Linked DNA regions of Homo sapiens: region 1 is linked to region 2. Evidence: promoter capture Hi-C in 16 types of primary human blood cells and fetal thymus (Javierre and others, 2016). All regions are on one chromosome and are shown on one strand. The core of a region is centred on a gene start or on the middle of the fragment in contact, and the rest is flanking DNA. Distances in the headings are between cores, read along the strand shown. Region 1 overlaps VAV3 (vav guanine nucleotide exchange factor 3). Region 2 holds the start of VAV3 (vav guanine nucleotide exchange factor 3).

Region 1 (4,861 bases), core at 219-2,718, 200 kb before region 2:
TATTATCATATGTAATATCTACTCCAATATGATTTGTGCTGTATGCCCCTAAGAATGTAGTATTTGCTTAATAAGTATTTACTGAACTGAATGAAATGGAATATTTGACTTTAAAACTTTGCTCAAGTATAAACCTACTACTAAACTCCAAGATTTAGAAGCCTTGGATTGTATTTAATTTCACCCTCTTCTTTCCTAAAGGTTTATTTTAAAATAGTATTGACTGGTTTGTTCTTTTGATAATAATTATGACTTTGAGTAAATTACTTTGAAGTGTCAAAGAATGAACTTAAAGCCAAGATTTGGCAACTGTTGGCGGTGTGACCTTGGACAAGTCACTTTTCTGATTTTACTGTTTCTCACGTAACTATGGTGTTCTTCAAAAAAAAAAAAAAAAAGGGCCATACAAATATTATTATTAGTGAGCAACCTCATAAGTCCAAAATCCTGACACAATTGCACATCCCAGCACAAGGACCTTTCCAGTTCATAGACGGAGTTGTGCTTAAGAAAATACACTGTTGCTCACAAGTTTGTTTCTTCTTTGCCCACACTTAGTTTTTCTGGCACATGGAATGATATATTATGAGGAGCTCCAAAAAAACACCATTAACTCTAATGATCCGTGACTTAATGAGTATGTCTGTCTACAGCTATCAGTCAAAATGAATTGGGGACACATCCTGACATGCTAGCTGTGTCATCAATTACTGCAGTTCATTAGAAGGATAACTATTTCAACCAGTTTCTTACTTCTACAGATTGTAGAGAGCTCTGGATCATGGGTCTCAAACAGAAAGTTACATTGTTAATATTACTATAATTAGTAGGTCTTATCTCCTCTGCTGCATTTTAAGGCCCTTGGAATTAAGGTTGTAGCTTATATTTCTTATGTTATGCCATCCCAACACAGTGGTAGGAACAGAAATATTATATATTTAAAATTCACTATATTATGGAAATTAGTTTCAAAATGTTGAAGAAAAAAAGTCAGTTCCTTTACATTCTAAGTTACAGGCTCAGGAAGTAAAGAAACCAACATTGCTGGAATTAGCTACACCTGGGAGATAGAGACTCAAATGTAAAATGCTTATTCGTGTTGAAAGTAAATAATGGGTAGAAAGAATCCTTCCAAAACATCCAGTCACTTGCTTAGCCTCAATTCAATTGTAATGGAAAATAAAATGAGGTAGGATGAGCCAGGCTGATAGGGCAAGATAAAGAGATTCATCGCCCTTCACCCCATGTTATCTTGGTTCCAAAGTAGAGAAGAAAAAGACAAAAAACTCAACAAGAACAAAAATAACCACAAAACAGAAGACACAAAGAAGGCAGAAAGACACCAAGAATAAGGTAGTTTTCCTTCTATCATGCTGGGGCTTGCGGCACGCAGCTCCCACTGAGTATTTGTTGAAGTGTTACACTAAGTATCCGACTTAATACTTCCAAATCAGGACTATGGTTAGAAGTGTGGGCTTTTAAGCTGAAGAAAGGACAGCAGGGGCACCTCACCCTGTGCCTTTCAAACTCAGCCTGATGTCCTCTCTTTCCCTAAGTCGAGCATTGACTGCAAAAACTACATACTTAGAGTCCCAGAGTATGGTCATTGGGCAAAACTTTGACAATAACTCTGAAAGAAGGAAGAACAACACTCAAACAAGACTGAGAATATAATGGAGGTGTGATTGACAACTTGCTGACTACTATCTGGGAGCACAATTTTATATCTTTATTTTAAGAAAAACTGCTTTAATGTTGCCCTACTAGGAAGTAGGTGTATAAGTTGTAAAATTTAATTTTATCATCATATTTTGAGTCACAGTGGCTCCCAGCTCTACACTTAGGAGGCTCTATTCTGCAAAGAGGAGCAGGAAGTCTTTGCACTAACAATGTTACAAGGATGTTATTTAGGGGTGACTCAAACTACCTCCAGTCTTAAAGTCAACATAATGAAGGAATATTAAGATATAAAGCAAAAAGATCACGTATCTAGTACAGTTACTTGGTGGCCTGTTAACGTGCAAACTGTCTAAGCAATAGTTTCCCTTTGTGGGAGTTGTGAGCTATGAAATCATGCCAGAGAGGCAAAACAGTGAAGGGCTTCTGATTTGAAAATCACCTGCCCCTTCTCCCCTGACCTCAGTGCTACACTGAACAAAGAAAAGGAAAAGGGATATTAAACAGGCAAATAAGCCACACGCTGTTAAATTTAAGAGCTGGCTATATATCTCTACCTGAAATTTAATAAAATTCAAAATACATGGATAATACAGTGACTGATACAACAAACATTGTTCAAAAGTTCTTTGAAAGCATGAAGTCCTCGAACTCCTCTTCAGGAAAAAAAAAAACAAAAAACAAAAAACAAAACAAAAAAAAAAACATGATGTACAAAAAAACACGACTTAACCTAGGTTTCTAGACTTATATACTGTTGTGATCATGCACTCTGTTTATATCGGCCTACGTGCCACCTCTCAAACTTTCCCAACTGTTCTGGTCAATACATACCAATTGTTCAGGAATGCTCTCCATAGAATCTCATCTGTCAAAGCTCATCCCATTCTTTGGTGACCTAACTCAAATGCGCCTCTTCAGATGAATCCTCTACAATCTACCCACACTGAAGTGGGTAGATTCAGTCTTACAGAGCCCTATTATACAGTGCTTATCACATGTTATTTAATCCTACCATATTTGTGTTCGTCTTCTCTTCCTTCCTGTGGGCAATATGCATGGCCTTTTAATACATCTGATTCTAAATGTCATATTTTTAGTAAACATCTTTTTTATTTTGTTTTTGATACAGGGTCTTGCTTTGCCACCCTGGCTGGAGTGCAATGGTGCAACCATAGCTCACTGCAGCTTCAAACTCTCGGGCTCAAGTGCATACTCCTTGGCCTCAACTTCTCAGGTAGCTAGAACTACAGGCATGAGCCACCCTGCCCAGCTAACTAGTAAACATTTTAAATCTACATATACATTATCTAACGTATCTCACTCGTCCTGCACTTCTTACTATCTACGCAAGTTATTCATAATCTCTCTGAACTTCAGCTTTCTCATAAGATGAGAAAATTAATTGTACCTATTTCACAGAGTCAGAAGGACCTAATGAGATAATGCATGTAAAACACAGGGCCATAAATGTTAGATTTTTAACGACTGTTACTATTACTACCATATTACTATTTTATAGAGCTGTTTAAATATTTTATAAAATTGACATGAAATTATATTTAAAATAATGGGAAATGTACTGCTTCACTGATCATAAAGAGGAACACATTGCTTTTAGGTTTATTTTGCTTTATGTCATAAACTAAAAATAAATAGGCACCTCTAATTTCAGTTTGACATCTTCTTTTGTCTTAGAAATGTAGTCTAAACTAGAGATGGCTGACTCCACTCCACTGCAGTACTGCCCGTAAATAACCAATCTGAAAGGGAAAAAAGACAAGAAATCTCTAAGACAAAAACCAAGAATGAACTGGAGGGGGAAACAAGCAGAATCTTCATCTCTTTAAAACCATTGTTAGGGATAACCAAAATAGCAGTAGAAATTATTTTTAATACATACCACATACACAGTCATAGAATAAGGGTCACTCATTTTTATAGTAATGACTAATTTGTAGTTCCAACTTTGAATGAGATTAATTCTATGTAAATTTTTATAGCAGGCAGAATTTACAAACTGGCTTGATGACTGTTAATGTTATTTGAGTAGACATAAATGCATTCCAAAAACAAAATTAAAAATTTCTGTTAAAGCTCTTACAAGAGATAAACTTTGTCTCTAAACACTCAGAAAGTTTTCTCTATTACAATTTTATGCCAATCACTACATATAACTCCTTCATTATTAAACCTCTTACTCCTTGCTACTTTTTAATTAAGGAACATAAATCATCTGAAGAGAGGAAAACGAGAGACCTGAACTGTTCTGGACAGAAGATAACTCATATCACATGGAATCTGACCCACTTCAGGGAAGGTATCTCTGTAGCACAAATATTTTGCAAAGAGGTCAGTTGGTTTATTGCTTCTCTTAACTCTCCACTGGAAAAAAGACACTACTAATAAAATGTGAATATTTATCGAAGACTTGATGCAAAGTAATTCATTAGCCACTTCTTAGTACTAGGAAATACGTTGCTTGATTTGAAAAGAGAGATAATTATATTTTAAGCAAAATTTCTTGATACTCCAATTCCTATAGGTTGTCAGGAGATTTTTTTTTAACTTAGAAAGGGAAACTGACTCTGCGAATCTAATACTCCAAAATAGAGTGTCATAAAATACCAGAATTGGAAGAAAAGTGGAAGAAGCATTAAGTACCAGCTAATCTACCTCCGGTGTTTACAGATGGGGACACAGAGGCTCAGAGAGTTAAAATGACTTACTGAAGATTACATCGCTCAGTAATGATAAAGCCTGTAAAAGAAACTTAGCCTTTTGATTTGCGATGCAAAAAAATAAGCACCATACTGGGTCCTTCCCCCTCCTCCTTCTTCTTCTTCTTTTTTTCTTTTTTAATTACATATATAGAACTCAAACTACTACTCTGAAAGTAATTGTCCCACGTTCTAATTACTGCTCAGGTAGTAATGTAATAAACAGCAGTAATAGCTATTTGTTAGCTATTTTAATACTAATCCTCACTATAATTACAAGCTAAGACCCACAAAACTTAAACTTCAAAAGTTACCTTTCCTTGTAGTTAATAAAAACTTGGTACAAGTTCTGGTCATTTTTATTTACAATGGAATCATGAATCTCTTGCATTAGGTTCCGATGAAGTTTTACAAGTTCCTAAGAAAAGAAAACAATGTGAAAGGAAAGTAGGAATAACAACCAA
Region 2 (4,757 bases), core at 2,115-4,614:
TTATTAAGATTCCAAGATTCAAACCTATAATTGAGCAGTCATTATTTGCAGTTATTTATTTTTTTAAATGCAAACAAGGCAGAAGGCTAACAGAGAATAGAAAGGCATCCCACTCACTGGAATAAACACTCATTTTAAAAGGCTGGTCATTTTATAGCCTCTTTCAGGAAAGCTAAACAGGCTACAAACAAAACATCAATAAATTAAAATTTCTTTTGTCAACATCTGCTCTTTACAGTCTCAATATGTCACAAAAGTCAGAAGTGACAGCTTCCAGTTATTTCTCAGGTTAGGAGATCATGTGCTATAAAAAATAGTCTATTTCAAATTAATATCTTCAACAGAATCTAAGTAGACAGAACGACTCTCAGACATACCAAAACGCCACAAGTACTAGTAATGACATCTCTAACTCCAGGGGAATACATTCTGCTGGGACATGACAGGGTTGTACCAGGTTAATAGTGTATTCACTACAGCTAGAACCTTTCCCAAGAAAGAGATGAGTAGTTAGCGGCAAAATGTCTAGGGTTATCAGCCCAAAGGAACCGGTAGGCCTCTACAATTGTTTTAAAATTTCTATTGGAACCTATTACTCTTAATATAACAATAGCAGAAAAAATGTTTTTCATAATTTTGCTAATAGTAAACATTTATTAAGTACATGTGCTAGGCACTATAAGCATGTTAAATACGTCAAGTTGTTTCATAAAATCATTTCATAAGTCTCATTAAAGGATTTAATGACAACCTGCATGATACAAACTCATCGGCCTAGCATCCACTTGTTCAGCAGCCTTGCCTCTCTGCAATGAGGCCAAGAACCATGAGGAAAGCAAAAACAGACATCACCAGGCTCAGGTACTAGCCTTCTAGGATTCACATTTGAGGGAAGCACCCTCTCATAGGACATTACAGGAGAAACTGTACTTAATTTGGAACCAGAAACCTCAAGGTTGAACAGACTTAAGAACTCAAAAGTGCAACGGCACAAAGAAGGTCATTAGCTGTCCTACTTACCTTATTATAACCCAGTGATTTACCATCTGATAGCATAGTGTAATAATTCCTTTAGGGCAAGTATCCTGGTGTGCTCATTTTGCTACCCCCACTAGGGAACAGAACTCTTAGAGCATTGTATGTGCTCAATTTTCATTAATGATGCTTATAATGACAATCTTTGGTCATCAGAAAGATTAAATTACATCTAACATAAGAGGAGAAGAGTGAAACACATTCAAAACGATTCTCATCCATTGTTAGCATTCAAATAAAGGCTTCGAGGTTTAAAAAGGTCTTCAGCTGTCCAGAAAACGTGATTATTGAGAGCAACTGCTGAGAGTTCCAGGAAACAAGTTCCAGGAAATGTGCACAGTACTGTACTCCCTACTGGTGGGCCAAGGCATCCTGACCCACGCTGCCTCCTGAGGCTACAGGCAAAGTGGAAAATGGGGATGTGTGAGAGTAGCTAACTGCAGCTCCCACCATAATAGAAAAGTCTGCCAAACCCCTCAAAGGAATTTCCAGAGTTGAGACAACTCTGAAGGGGTACCGAGAGGTAGCAATCACCATGCATGTTTATGGGGGTATAAAATAATTTACCTCACTTTTAAATACGTATGGCTCTCCCCACTTCCATGCCTGTTCTTTCTTAGGGACTGCCCACCAGCAGGTTGAAGGCAAACAGGCAAGGAATGCAGAATCTGAAGTGCAGGGGACCCTGATGAAACACTGACACCAAGAATCACAGATGACTGTGTGTGCTCTAACTTTAAATACATACTTATTAAATCATATAAAGTCCGTTCCTTCTTAAAAGGCGCTGCTCTGGTTGCTAAGTAGCTGAGGCTCTGCGTCATAGAGGATTAGTGCTGAAATGTGTCAGGGAGAGGGCTCTGTCCTCTCCCTTTTAAGTTGAAAGCAGTTTGGTTTTTTGTTTTGTTTTAACATTCTGAAAGAGAAAGAGGCTCTGAACCGAGTTTAACATCCTTCTGTACAAAAATTTTCCGACAGGACAAATAAACTACTCTTCCACTGAACTGTGACTTTTGAGCTGACTCTAGGGTGCACCCAACCTTCCAGAGGTGTCTGGCTTAACCCTCAAAGAGGCAGCTCCAGCCCCAGGAGCCGACCGGCACCACAGCACCTGAGCAGGGCACTGCAGGAAGGAAAGCGGAATCTCTAGTGAAACTTCTCATTTCCTGTCGCTGCTGAGAGAGGCTGGACTCGCTCCTTCTCACATGGCTTAGGAAGAGCTGTAAACGGGAGCTTGCCGGCTGGCCACCAGCTCAGGGGCCCTGGGGGCGGCCTCCGGGTTCTGCTCCCTGTTCTTCCCTTTGACCAATGTCACTCCTGGACAGATAACGGGACCAAACGCCCTTCACTTCCTCGAGTCCTCATGTATGTCATGGTTCCTCTTTTAGGAAAACATGAGTACAAGACGCAAAGCAAAAGAAGAGACTAAAGGCAAATTACCCCATCACCTCGTTTCGTCCCTCCCCTTCGTTATTATAGAAGAGCTTGATCAAATTCCCTTTGTCGCGCCACACACACGCAGAGTAGGTGAAGGGCACCCTAAGACAACTTATTTCTTTCCCGCCTCACAGAAAGCCTTTACGAAATCCTCACACCATCTCCGGACGCAAAGCTTTCGCATTCAGCTTGAGGAGCTAAACCATTTCAAGCCAAGGTAGGAAACGCCAAAGTGGTGCCGAAGTGGTCCCAAAGCAGAAGGCTGGGAAGCAGGGCAAGCTCAGCGCACCTAGACGTTTGCATTTACACAAAGAAATTAGCCGCATGATTAATGGGAGCTGCCGGCTGGAGGCGGGGCGCCCGTGCCGGCCTCCTCACCTGGGACATCTGCGGCCTCAGGTTGATCTCCTTCAGGTTGATGGAGTGCGCCCGGAGGTTGTTAAGCAGCTGGCAGAGCAGGACTCCATCGCGGAGGGTCTGCGCAAGGTCGAACACCTGAGCCGAGTCCCAGGTCACCCGGTGGTTGGTGGGCAGCACCTTGCAATGGATGAGCCACTGCGCGCACTGCTTCCACGGCTCCATGCCCGACGGCTCCGGGACGCGGCTGGGCCGGGGCGGGCGGCAAGGATGCGGCCGCCGCCGCCGCCGCCGCGGTTCCTCCGCGCCCCGCCGACGCCAACAGCCGCCGGCCCTTTCCCCGCGCGGGATCGAGGGAGCAGGAGCCGCGGCTGACGGGTCGCGGGCGCCGCGCTAGGCTCGGCTCCGGTCCCGGCCCGGGTGCGCCGCGACCCGGCCGCCGCTGCAGCGAGTCCCGCGCGCTCTCCGTGCGCCCCGGCCGGCTCGGCGGCGGCTGCCGCGCACAGGCTTCCGACTCCAGCGCCCGGCCCGCCACTGAGCATGCCCAGCACGCCGGCCGGTCTCGCTGCGGTCCGCAAGTCCCCAGACGCGCGGGTGGGAGCGCGCCGGCGGCCGGGGCTGGGGTCTGTGGCCGAGGGCGGGGCGCGGGGGAGGGGCCGGCGGAGGGGGGCGGCGGCCAGAAAGGGGATCCCGCGCCCCCGCCTGCAGCCTTGCGGGGCTCACGCAGCCCCCGGCGTCCTGGGGTCTTCTCTCGGGGCGGCTTCCCGGCTTTGCGGGGAGTGTGGCTGAATACTGTAATACGATGGGGTCCCCCAGGACCCCCTAAACAACAAATGCTCAAAGGAGCGACGGATTAATTGGGGCACCCAGACTCCCCAGAGCAATGAAAAAAGTGCCTAGAGCATCAGTAGAGCACGGCGCTGAAAGTTTTAGAGATCGTCGCCCCCTCGCCCCTTGCAGCTCTATCCCCTCCATTCTCTATAGCTGATTCCTCAGCCTATTCCTCCTAGTTGCCCCTAGTGGTGTTTTGGCACCCTCAAAGTGAGTGAGAGTGCGTGTGTGGAGACGCCTGCGGAAACCGCCCCGATCCCTGAGCCTATTTCCTCGCGAGGTGATTTTCACTTGGAGCTGGTTTGCCCCTGCACTGTCAGGCTCGGAACTGTTTGCCGTTGCTGTTCTGGCCCTTTTGCTGACCCCACAAAAACCTGCTTGAGAAAGGCCTGTGCCACGGTGCTAGACTGCGCATGCGTCGGCGACTGGCGGCCGGGTTTGAGAGCAAAGCGCGTTAGCCCTGGGCAGCTCCTGCCGGGCTGTTCTGGGATCCTTAGTGAAAGTTGGAACTTGACCCCAGAACTTTTGCGCAGTGCACAAGCAGTGCATTCGTGTTTCTTAAGTAAATCTTTTGGAGACTCTAAACCCTACCCCTTTTACTCCCACTGCACACTGCCCCTCAAAACCACAATTAATGTTTAAATTATTTGTGGCAAGATATTGCCACAGTGAATTATTGCTGTTCGATAGGAATGTGGTCCTTCGTCACCCTTTTGAGATGCATTCACTTAAAATTAGAAAATAGGCCGGGCGCGGTGGCTCACGCCTGTAATCCCAGCACTTTGGGAGGCCGAGGCGGGCGGATCACGAGGTCAGGAGATCGAGACCATCCTGGCTAACACGGTGAAAACCCGTCTCTACTAAAAATACAAAAAATTGGCCGGGCGTGGTGGCACGCACCTGTAGTCCCAGCTGCTCGGGAGGCTGAGGTAGGAGAATCGCTTGAACCCATGAGGCGGAGGTTGCGGTGAGCTGAGATCCAGCCACTGCACTCCAGCCTGGACGACAGAGCCAGACTCTGTCTCAAAAAACAAACAAACAAACAAACAAAAAGATGGGAGTTTGGATAATTTAATTGTATTATATTTCTGTAGCCC

What was found. The method cuts DNA at HindIII sites, captures the fragments that hold promoters and counts their contacts. A CHiCAGO score of 5 or more calls a contact.
Region 1: a fragment that was not itself captured here is called in contact with the fragment with the promoter of VAV3 in region 2 in 6 of 17 cell types (total B cells, naive B cells, naive CD8 T cells and 3 more); the score reaches 7.0 in total B cells.

Annotation. Positions count from the first base shown.
Region 1 is chr1:107,761,736-107,766,596 of GRCh38, forward strand. VAV3 (vav guanine nucleotide exchange factor 3) reads right to left here. Exons shown (of 27, transcript NM_006113.5): 8 at 4,712-4,815; 9 at 3,341-3,440. Among named protein-coding and RNA genes, the nearest start is that of MIR7852, 130 kb to the right of the region's middle. The HindIII fragment of the contact is 8,943 bases long and covers 1-4,861 here.
Region 2 is chr1:107,961,816-107,966,572 of GRCh38, forward strand. It overlaps VAV3 (vav guanine nucleotide exchange factor 3), which reads right to left and starts at 3,365. Exons shown (of 27, transcript NM_006113.5): 1 at 2,851-3,365. The coding sequence starts at 3,054. VAV3-AS1 (VAV3 antisense RNA 1) reads left to right here and starts at 2,628. Exons shown (of 3, transcript NR_046653.1): 1 at 2,628-2,689. RefSeq lists enhancers at 2,376-2,505, 3,852-4,146, 4,082-4,151. The HindIII fragment of the contact is 4,630 bases long and covers 2,646-4,757 here.